Linked DNA regions of Homo sapiens: region 1 is linked to region 2. The links are contacts of gene promoters, found by promoter capture Hi-C in blood cells and fetal thymus (Javierre and others, 2016). All regions are on one chromosome and are shown on one strand. Each heading gives the region's core, a stretch centred on a gene start or on the middle of the fragment in contact. The rest is flanking DNA. Distances are from core to core; before and after follow the strand shown. Region 1 overlaps OBSCN (obscurin, cytoskeletal calmodulin and titin-interacting RhoGEF). Region 2 holds the start of H3-4 (H3.4 histone, cluster member).

Region 1 (5,808 bases), core at 1-2,500, 170 kb after region 2:
TGAGGGCATGGAGAAGTGGAGAGGTGGAGTCTCATGGAAAGGGCACTGGAGGCCGTGGAGTCCATCAGCCAGTCTCATCATCACCTCCACACAAAGTCACTCTCCAACCCCCAAAGCACTGACCTGCCACGTGCAGGTGGAAGGAGAGCCGCTGGCTCCCCGCCTCGCAGCTGTACTCCCCGGCGACCGCCTGGCCCGCCTGCTGCACCACCAGCCTCCGTGTGCAGCCCACAGCCTCCATGCGCACTTTCGAGCTGAAGCTCAGCTTCTTCCCGTCCTTGTACCACATCACCTCCGTCTGGGCCTGAGCCACCTCGCAGCTGAGTGTGGTGCTGGCCCCCGCCTGGGCCTGCACCTCCCTGTGCACTGGCTGCTCCTTGGCAAACACCACCTTGGGCTCTGGGGAAGGCAAGATGCACACGGTGACCACCAACATCTAGGTCAGGAAGGCAGAACTGGGGAGAGAAGGCCTGGAAGGGGAGGCGCAAGGGACAGACGCTCTCCAGGCTGCACCACCACCTCCCAGCACAAGGAAGTTTCTCCATCCATTCTGCATGGTGCCACAGGCTGTCTTTGGTGGGGTGGCTGACAGATCTTGCCCACACAAGCTCATCTGGGGCAGGGATTGGGGTCCTGACGCCTGCACCCTTCCCCTCATGAATGGAGCAAGGGTCTCCCAATGCGGCTGTGCAAGACGCATCCTCACCACAGAACCCCAGTCTTGAGGCTCCCGCTTCTGCCACTGTCAGGACGGTCAGCTTTGGCCTCAGCGGGGTGTGTCGCTGTGGCTTTCTTCATTGTTTGATGGCTCACAGGGCTGAGCATCTTTCTAGAGGATTGGCCATTCCTGTTTGCTCCTCTGTGGTGTCACTACTCAATTCCGTCCCATTATCAATAGCACTGTCTTGTTGTCTTTATTCAGTTTAAGAAGGCAGTCCCCAACATTTTTGGCAGCAGGGACTAGCTTCATGGAAGGCAATTTTTCCACAGATGGGGGTTGGTGGGATAGTTTCAGGATGAAACTGTTCCACCTCAGATCATCAGGCATTAGATTCTCATAAGGAGCACAACCTAGATTCCTCCAATGCACAGTTCACAATAGGGTTCATGCTCCTATGAGAATCTAATGCTGCTGCTGATCTGACAGGAGGCAGAGCTCAGGCGGGAATGCTCACCTGCCACTCACCTCCTGCTGTGCGGCCCAGTTCCTAACAGGCCACAGAACAGTACTGGTCCACAGCCTGGGGGTTGGGGACCCTGGCTTTAAGGTCTTCTTCATATATTTTAATGTTAGAGAGGTCACAATTATGCACTTTGTATCTTCCCTACCTGTGTGACTTGGGTTTTCATCTCTTATGGCACCTTCTGATGAATCAGACCTTTTAGTTTTAATGTACTCAAATATATCAATCTTGTCCATTGTGGTTAGGGCATTTGTGTTCTATTTAAACACTTCCTTACCCTAAATTCTGTAGATAGCCTATGCTTACCATCTTGGGGTTTATTGTTTTACCTTTTACCCTGAGGTCTCTAACCCACCAGGAGCTGACTCTCGCGCATGCTATGAATTACCAATATGCTTTAATTCTTCCCATATGTTTAAAATGGTCCACACACTAGTTATGAAAACACTATCCTTGGCTGGGCACAGTGGCTCATGCCTGTAATCCCAGCACTTTGGGAGGCTGAGGCGGGCGGATCACGAGGTCAGGAGATCAAGAGATCAAGACCATCCTGGCTAACACAGTGAAACCCCGTCTCTACTAAAAATACAAAAAAATTAGCCGGGTGTGGTGGCGGGCACCTGAAGTCCCAGCTACTCGGGAGGCTGAGGCAGGAGAATGGCATGAACCCGGGAGGCAGAGCTTGCAGTGAGCCAAGATGGCGCCACTGCACTCCAGCCTGGACAACAGAGCTAGACTCCATCTCAAAACAAAAAAAAAAGAAAACACTATCCTTTCTCTACTTCTTGCACAGATGCCATGGTTAAAAAAAAAAAAAAAAAAAAAAAAGGAAGGGGGACATCCAGAGATCACTGATGCATAGAACTGTTCCTGAGCTCACTATTCCATTTCTTTGTTCTGATATCTAACCATTCATTGAAATCCATTGTCTTAATTACTGTAACTTTATGATAATTTTTGACATCTGGTAGAGTAATGTTCATACTTTGATTTTCTTTTCATTCCCCCACAAAAAAAAATTGTTTGGATCCTGATTGTTAATGAATATATTTTAATGTTTCATGAATTTCTATCCATTTAATTAGATCTCTTAATTGTCTTGCAAAATATACAACAATTTCCTAGCCCCTCCCCAGGCTTTAAACATCTTTATTAGACTTTGAATTAGAAACACTGTAATTTTGATGCTACTGTAAGTCTTTTCAAATTTCATTTTGCAACTGTTTACTGCTGTATATAGATACAGAAGTATTGTCTGTGTGTTGATTTTTTTTTTTAACAGAATAATCATTCTCAATGTTACTTAGTCTACTAAGTTCTCTATTGGATTTTCCAAGTGGATGGCCATATCATCAGTAAATTTCACTTTTACTTTTTCCAAGTGCCATGCCTTTTGCGTTATTTTCCTCCTTACCCTTATGTACAATGTTGGATACAAGTGGTGACACTGCCCTGTCTCCTTCTCTGAACCAAACCTTTCAAGGTTTGCTCTGAGTGGGATCCTAGTGGTGCTTCTCTAGTACCATTTATCAAATTAAGGAAGAACACTTCTATAAAGTTTGTTAAGAATCCTATGAAATGAGTTGATGCTAAATTTTCTCAAATATATCTTCTAGATTTTATCAAATACTTTTAATCTGCATTTATTGAGATAATTACATCATTTTTCATTCAATCTGTTAAGGTCAAGCTTATTATACTGATCTAATGCTTCTAAAGCCAAACCAGCCTTGCATTCTGGGACCAGGATCTTCAACAGAGTGCACTGTCTTCTTGATACATTGCTGAATTCCATTTGCTAATACTTTGTTTATGATTGTGTTCTTGATATCCATAATGACAAATCCATATAGATTGGTCGACAATTTAATTCTTCCTACTTCCTTTGTCAGATTTTGGTATTAATGTTACGCTATCTACATAAAATGATGGCCTGGGCATGGTGGCTCATGCCTGTAATACCAGCACTGTGGGAGGCCAAGGCGGGTGGATAGCTTGAGCCCAGAAGTTTGAGACTAGCCTGGGCAACATGGCAAAACCCCGTCTCTACTGAAAAAAAAAAATACAAAAAAATAGCTGGCACACATGCTATTTTTGTGGTGGTGGTGCATCCCTGTAATCCCAGCTACTTGGGGGGCTGAGGTAGGAAAATCACTTGAACCTGGGAGGCAGAGGGTGCAGTGAGCCAAGATCATGCCACTGTACTCCAGCCTGGACAATAGAGTGAGGCCCTGTCTCAAACAAACAAACAAACAAAAAAAAAAAACCATAAAATGGCATATGGAGTCAATCTCCTTTTTCTATTCTCCAGAACAATATTCATGAATATGGAGTAACTGCTTTCCAGAATATTTGAAACAGTTTACTAGAAAATTATTGGGTTTAAAAGATTTTTTTACTACTGCCTCCATCTATTTAAAACTTATAGGACTAAGTTTTCTGTAACCTTTTATGTGAGTTTTCATGTAATTTACTAGGAATTAGCCAAATTGTCACAACTTTTCAAATTTATTACATAAAACATTTTGTCATATTCTCTGAAAATAACTTCACAGAAATATACAGTGGGATTTCTGTTATCTATACACATCCACATAACACTGATGCTGATGTAATACCAAACTTATGTGTTAGCACCCAGAGGTCACCATGGGACTTCAGCCCACCCCTATTTGGCATCAACACTCTCTTTATTTTAAAAAAAAAAAAAAAAAGGAAATTAATTGTATTTCTCAGGCTTCCCTATGTATCAGCCAAGGGAACACAGATATACACAGCAGCAAACACACTGGACTTGCTGGTGAGACATTTGCATTCCAGAGGATGGGAAATAAATCTGACTAAAATTCAGGGACCTCCCACCTCAGTAAAATGTCTAGGGGTCGAGTGGTGTGGGGCCTGTCAAGATATTCCTTCTAAGGTGAAGGATAAGTTGCTGCATTTGGCCCCTCCTACAACCAAGAAAGAGGCACAATGTCTATTTGGATTTTGGAGGCAACACATTCCTCATGTGGGTGTGTTACTCTGGATCATTTATCAAGTGACCCAAAAGGCTGCCAGTTTTGAGTGGGGTCCAGAACAGGAGAAGGGTCTGCAACAGGTCCAGGCTGCTGTGCAAGCTGCTCTGCCACTTGGGCCATATGACTCAGCAGATCCAGTGGTGCTTAAGGTGCCAGTGGCAGATAGGGATGCTGTCTGGAGCCTTTGGCAGCCCCCACGGGTGAATCAGAGTGGAGGCCTTTAGGATTTTGGAACAACACCCTGTCATCTTCTGCAGATAACTACTCTCATTTTGAGAGACAGCTCTTGGCCTGTTACTGAGCTTTGGTGGAAACTGAACAATTGACTATGGATCATCAAGTCACCATGTGACTTGAACTGCTTGTCATAACCTGGGTGCTTTCTGACCCACCTAGCCATAAAGTTGGGCATGCACAACAGCATTCTATCATCAAATGGAAGTGGTATATACATGATCGGGCTCAAGTAGGTCCTGAAGGCCCAAGTAAGTTACATGAGGAAGTGGCTCAAATGCCCATGGTCCCCACTCCTGCCACCCTGCCTTCTCTCCTCCAGCCTGCACCAATGGCCTCATGGAGAGTTCCCTATGATCAACTGACAGAGGAAGAGAAGACTAGGGCCTGGTTCACAGACGGTTCTGTACGATATGCGGGCACTACCCAAAAGCGGAGAGCTGCAGCACTACAGCCCCTTTCTAGGACATCCCTGAAGAACAGGGGCAAATGGAAATCTTCCCAGTGGGCAGAACTTCAAGCAGTGCACCTCGTTGTGCACTTTGCTTGAAGGAGAAATGGCCAGATGAGCGATTATACACTGATTCATGGGCTGTAGACAATGGTTTGGCTGGATGGTCAGGGACTTGGAAGAAGCATGATTGGAAAATTGAGGAAGAGGTGTGTGGATGGACCTCTCTGAGTGGTCAAAAATTGTGAAGATATTTGTATCTCATGCGAGTGCTCACCAAAGGGTGACCTCAGCAGAGGAGGATTTTAATAATCAAGTGAATAGGATGACTGTGGACACCACTCAGCCTCCTTCCCCAGCCACCCCTGTCATCACCCAATGGGTCCATGAACAAAGCAGCCATGGTGGCAGGGATGGAGGTTACACATGTGCTCAGCAGCATGGACTTCCACTCACCAAGGCAGTCCTGACTAAGGCCACTGCTGAGTGCCCAATTTGCCAGCAGCAGAGACCAACAATGAGCCCTCGATATGGCACCATTTCTCAGGGTGATCAGACATCTACTTGATGGCAGGTTGATTATATTGGACCTCTTCCATCATAGAAAGGGCAATGGTTTGTCCTCACCAGAATAGACACTTATCCAGATATGGGTTTGTCTATCCTGCACACAACACTTTGACCAAGACTACCATCCATGGATTCACAGAATGTCTTATCCACCGTCATGGTATTTCACACAGCACTGCCTCTGACCAAAGCACTCTATGGTTAAAAAAGTGTGGCAGTGGGCTTATGCTCATGGAATTCACTGGTCTTACCATGTTCCCCATCATCCTGAAGCAAGTGGATTGATAGAACAGTGCAATAGCTTTTTGAAGTCACAATTCCAATGCCAACTAGGTGTCAATACTTTGCA
Region 2 (5,743 bases), core at 2,281-4,780:
CCAATAAAAAAACCAATCCAGATTTAGTAAGGAGATATCTTTATGCAAAAGGATATTGCAATAGGAGATACCAGAATACTGCAATAGGGAGAAAGCATTGACCTTAATGTCTGCAAGCTCCCAAAGGTGACGCAGAGAAGGAGTTTTCTTATATAGGGAGGAATGAATGAGGCTGGAAAGAACCACGTCTGGGGAAGTGGGATGAAGGGTGGCTGAGGGGACAAGAGATTGAGGATACTTTACCCTGAGCCTGGCCTGCTCCAGGAGAGGCCAAACATCAGGGCGTTGGGGGAGGGGAGAAGCTGAACCAAGGCTGGGCAAACAAGCATCTTGTGTGGATTGACGCATGGGGACAAGGAGTTCAGGTAATCATTGATAAGGCAAAGATGGCAATGTAGTGGGTGCTATAGTTTGAATAAGGTGTTTGTCTCATTAATTCTCATGTTGAAATTTAATCTCCAGTGTTGGAGGTGCAGCCTGGTGGGAGGTGCTTGGGTCCTGGGGGCAGATCCTTCATGAATAGACTCCTGCCCTCCCTTGTAGGGAGTGGAGTTCTTGCTCTATTAGTTCCTGCCAAAGCTGGTTGTTAAAAACAGCCCGGCACCTCCTCCTCTCTCTTTCCCTGTGACCTCTGCACACAGGGGCTCCCCTTCATCTTCCACCATGAATGGAGGCTTCCTGAGGTCCTCATCAGAAGCAGATGCTGAAGCCTTGCTTCTTATACAGCCTGCAGAACCATAAGCCAAAAAAAGTTTTGATAAATTACCCAGCTTCTAGTATTCCTTTACAGCAACGCAAAACAGACAAAGACAGTGGGCCTGTCATGCATCAACAAGGGGCGCTGTAGGGGAGGCAGAATTCTACCTCCATTATCTTAGGGTCCAGGGTGGGCCCAAGAATTAGACTGACATTAGAGAGATGAGCAGGAGAAAAACATACAGTTATTTAATACAAATTTAATGTGGTACAGGAGCCCTCATAAGGAAATGAAGATGCAAAGAGGCAGTTAGAGTCACTTATATACAGAGGTGGACAAACACTATTAAGTTGTGAGATTTGATACGGCCACGGGGCTTGAGTGAGGATAGTTAATGGGGTGAAGAAATGACTAAGTCAAAATACTTACACACTAGGTTGAACAAAGAGTAGTAACTGTGGCAACAACTAGGAAGATAAGGGTTAGTTTAATAAAGTTTGTTTGTATAGATTTCTCTTGGCTTCTATCTTGGTCTGTTTCATGTTGTTAAAGGAATACCTGAGGCTGGATGATTTATTAAAAAAAAAAAAGGTTTATTTGGCTTATGGTTTCGCAGGCTGTACAAGAAGCACAGTGGCTGGGCGCAGTGGCTCACGCCTGTAATCCCAGCTACTCAGGAGGCTGAGGCAGGAGAGTCGCTTGAACTTCCCGGGAGGCGGATGTTGCAGTGGGCTGAGATCACATCACTGCACTCCAGCCTGGGCAACAGAGTGAGACTCAGGTCAAAAAATTAAAAAAAAAAAAGCATAGTGGCCGGGCACGGTGTAATCCTAGCACTTTGGGAGGCCAAGGTCGGGGGATCAGTTGAACTCAGGAATTCAAGACCAGCTTGGGCAACATAATGACAGCCCATCTCTACAAAAAAATTAAAAATTTAAAAATTAGCTGGATGTGGTCCCAGCTACTTGGGAGGCTGAGGTAAGAGGGGCCTGGGCAACAGAGCAAGATGAAAAAAGGAGGGAAAGGAGGGGAGGGGAAGGGAGAAGAAAAAAAGGAAGGGAGGGAGGGAGTGAGGAAGGGAGGGAAGGAGAAAGGAAGGGAGGGAAGGAGAAAGGAAGGGAGGGAAGGAGAAAGGAAGGGAGGGAAGGAGAAAGGAAGGGAGGGAGTGAGGAAGGGAGGGAAGGAGAAAGGAAGGGAGGGAGGGAGAAAGGAAGGAAGCAAGCATAGGGCCCACCTCTGCTTCTGGTGAGGGCCTCTGGCTGCTTCTGCTCATGGTGGAAGGTGAAGGGGAACCCATGTATGTGCAGAGGTCACAGGGCTGCCGCGAGAGAGGACGCCAGAGAGAGAGGGGAGAGGGGTGCCAGGCTCTTTTCAACACCAGCTCTTCAGGGAACCAACAGAGTGAAAACTCACCCTAAAGGAGGGCAGGACTCTATTCAGAGGGTGACACCCCAGGACCCACACACCTCCCACTGGCCCCCCCCTCCCTGGGCTCCAACTTTAGGGATCAAATTTCAACTTGAGAGTTGGAGGAGATTTGGAAGCTTCCACCTCCCGTCCTTGATGATAAGAACGTTCCCTTGCTTTTACTATAAGGAGAACATCTTTCATATGGGAATTTCATCTCTTGTATTTAAGAAACAACAAGAAATTCAGAATGATCTTCCTACACCTGCTTCTTCTTTTTTTTTTTTAAGTGCCTTTATCTCAAAATAGACAATATGCCAGAAAGGCACATCTTTACCTTCTTCAGAATCCTAAGGCTCATCTAAGCCGTACAGGTAAGGGAGTTCTTTGCAGGTCATAAAAAGTGGGAGATTCCTTTAACTCTGGCTGCATCCCAGAGCTTTGTCACTGTGTAAAAGTGGAATGCCGGCCGGGCACGCTGGCTCACGCCTGTAATCCCAACACTTTGGGAGGCCGAGGCGGGCGGATCACGAGGTCAGGAGATCGAGACCATCCTGGCTAACATGGTGAAACCCCGTCTCTACTAAAAATACAAAACAAAATTAGCCAGGCATGATGGCGGGCACCTGTAGTCCCAGCTACTCTGTAGGCTGAGGCAGGAGAATGGCGTGAACCCGGGAGGCGGAGCTTGCAGTGAGCTGGGATTGCGCCACTGCACTCCAGCCTGGGCGACAGAGAGAGACTCCGTCTCAAAAAAAAAAAAAAAAAAGTGAAATGCCAGCTGGGCCTGGTGGCTCATGCCTGTAATCCCAGCACTTTGGGAGGCCGAGGCGGGTGGATCACCTGAGGTCAGGAGTTCGAGACCAGCCTGGCCAATATGGTGAAACCCCATCTCTATTAAAAACACAAAAAATTAGCCAGGCATGGTGGCGGACACCTGTAATCCCTGTAATTCCAGTTACTCGGGAGGCTGAGGCAGGAGAATCGCTTGAACCTGGGAGGTGGAGGTTGCAGTAAGCAGAGATCACGCTATTGCACTCCAGCCTGGGCAACAAGAGTGAAACTCCATCTCAAAAAATAAAAAAATAAATTAATTTTTTAAAAAAGTGGAATGCCATGTGCTGGCTTCTGGAAGGCTCTTGCCACCCAAGTCATGGGGAAGGGAGAAGAGGAGCGCTGAGAAGACATGAGGAAGCTTGTGCTGGAGAGAGATGATCCCCACCACCGCGGCCTACCCGCATCAACCCTTCACAATGCTGGTGCCAGCTCTGGTGGCCACGACCAACAGGCATGAATATAAGGGAGAGGCGCCCGAGTGGAGTTCCCTGTGGGCCAATCAGAGAGCAGTGGGCCATCACGCCACCTGAGGCCAGCCAATGGGAACGCGGCAAGCTCTATAAAAGCGAGCAATCCGCTGAGGTCTGGGCAGAGGACACCGCGGGGCCAACAGTTTCGGATTCATGGCCCGAACCAAGCAGACTGCGCGCAAGTCAACGGGTGGCAAGGCGCCGCGCAAGCAGCTGGCCACCAAGGTGGCTCGCAAGAGCGCACCTGCCACTGGCGGCGTGAAGAAGCCGCACCGCTACCGGCCCGGCACGGTGGCGCTTCGCGAGATCCGCCGCTACCAGAAGTCCACTGAGCTGCTAATCCGCAAGTTGCCCTTCCAGCGGCTGATGCGCGAGATCGCTCAGGACTTTAAGACCGACCTGCGCTTCCAGAGCTCGGCCGTGATGGCGCTGCAGGAGGCGTGCGAGTCTTACCTGGTGGGGCTGTTTGAGGACACCAACCTGTGTGTCATCCATGCCAAACGGGTCACCATCATGCCTAAGGACATCCAGCTGGCACGCCGTATCCGCGGGGAGCGGGCCTAGGAGGGCTATCTCGCCACCTGAGAGGTTGCGCAACGTTCACCCCAAAGGCTCTTTTAAGAGCCACCCACCTGGTCGAAGAGTTGCTGTAGCAAGCTAGTCTCTTGGGTTTCGGGGGGTTCCTTCCGCTGGCCTGTGCTGGCTTACCTACTTCTGATTAGGGTGGGAGGCTGGTGAATCCTGTGTTCACCCTGTCCAGTTAGGAGGCCAGCTACTCACACGCGTTACCTCTCAGCCTGTCTCCAGTCACAAATCCAGCTAGTAGTGTGTGGGGCTAACTTGGCCTATCCGTTTAGATAAGAATCATGGTTGGTCTGTTTTGGGGACGGGGTGTTGAGGGTAGCCTAATTGGTCTATCTCCAGTTAGGTAAGCAACCCCAGCTAGTTGTGTCAACTCAGCCTATCTACAGTTAGGTTGGAAGGCTGGCTGGTCTTGTGTGTTCTCAGCTCAGCCTCTTTCAAATTAGGTTAGAAGTCCTGCGTGTGTGTGTGTGTGTGTACACGCAGCTTGTTTCCAGTGAGGTTACCAGTCCAGCTAGTCTTCTGCCTTGACAGCCCATCTCCTGTTAAGGCCAGCAAGTAGTATGTATTATCTTGGCCTATTTTAAGTTAGAAGTCCAGCTACTTCACCAGCATAGCAGCTTACGCCTGTAATCCCAGCACTTTGGGAGGCCGAGGCGGGTGTATCACCTGAGGTCAGGAGTTCCAGACCAGCCTGGCCAACATGGTGAAACCCCATCTCTAAAATTAGCCGGGTTTGGTGGCGCATACCTGTAATCCCAGCTACTTGGGAGGCTGAGGCAGGAGAACTGCTTGAACCCAGGGGGCGGAGGTTGCAGTGAGCCAAGATCATGCCACTGCACTGCAGCGTGGGCAACAGAACGAGACTCAATCTCAAAAAAAAAAACAAAAAAAAGTCCAGCTACTTGTGTGTTTTAACTCAGCCTACCTCCTGTTAATTTAGAAGGCTGGCTAGTTGTGTATCTTTTTAACTTGGGCTATCTCCCATTAGGTTAGAAGGCTGGCTAGGGGTGTGTGTGTGTGCACGTGCACCCATGTGCACACATATGTAGCTGTGGTGTTGGCCCATCTCGGGTTAGAAGTCCATCTCATTGTATGTGTTAACATACCCAATCTCCCATTCAGTTAAAAGGCTGGCTAGTCATGTATGTTGTAAATTCACCCTGTCTTCTGTTAGGGTAGATGACTAGCTAGTTGTGTGTGAGAAGCCCAGCTAGGCATGTGCATTGTTAATTCCTAAGTGAAATCAATACTGGGAAACCCCAGCCCAAAGTTCAAAGAGGGCACTCTGCCCTGGAAGTCAGTTTACTGAGCAGTCGCAGACAGGCGTGGCCCATGTGCCCAGCACTTTGAAACAGGCTTCCCAGCGCCACAAAGTAGTCTGGCAGTGCTCTGGGGATGAGAGACACAGAGACCAACTTGCTGAGAAATCCTACAGCTAGGGCAGCAGGCCACAGATCCAATAGTAGACTTATGTCAGGAAAACCTGAGGATGGCTGTGAGGATAAGGATGTAGGGATTGTCTCCCTCTGGTACAGGTTGGAATCATTTATTTGTGAAAGGCTTTATTAAATTGAATGAGGCCAAGCACTACCCCATGCTGGGATCATGGAGGGAATAAAATCCATTTCCTGTGGCTGCTGCCCACTCTGCTTTCAAGGTGCTTATGCTTGAGTGAAGGGGGCCTGTATTGTGTGTAGAAGCAATGATAGTAAAAGGTGCTCTTATACATAGCAAGGGATGTGCATAA

What was found. The method cuts DNA at HindIII sites, captures the fragments that hold promoters and counts their contacts. A CHiCAGO score of 5 or more calls a contact.
Region 1: a contact is called between a fragment that was not itself captured here and the fragment with the promoter of H3-4 in region 2, in 2 of 17 cell types (endothelial precursors and erythroblasts). The highest score is 6.3, in endothelial precursors.

The regions. Positions count from the first base shown.
Region 1 is chr1:228,251,242-228,257,049 of GRCh38, reverse strand. OBSCN (obscurin, cytoskeletal calmodulin and titin-interacting RhoGEF) reads right to left here. Exons shown (of 116, transcript NM_001386125.1): 16 at 124-399. Among named protein-coding and RNA genes, the nearest start is that of OBSCN-AS1, 40 kb to the right of the region's middle. The HindIII fragment of the contact is 3,253 bases long and covers 1-2,876 here.
Region 2 is chr1:228,423,147-228,428,889 of GRCh38, reverse strand. It overlaps H3-4 (H3.4 histone, cluster member), which reads left to right and starts at 3,530. Exons shown (of 1, transcript NM_003493.3): 1 at 3,530-4,045. The coding sequence starts at 3,565. The coding sequence ends at 3,975. The HindIII fragment of the contact is 2,523 bases long and covers 3,302-5,743 here.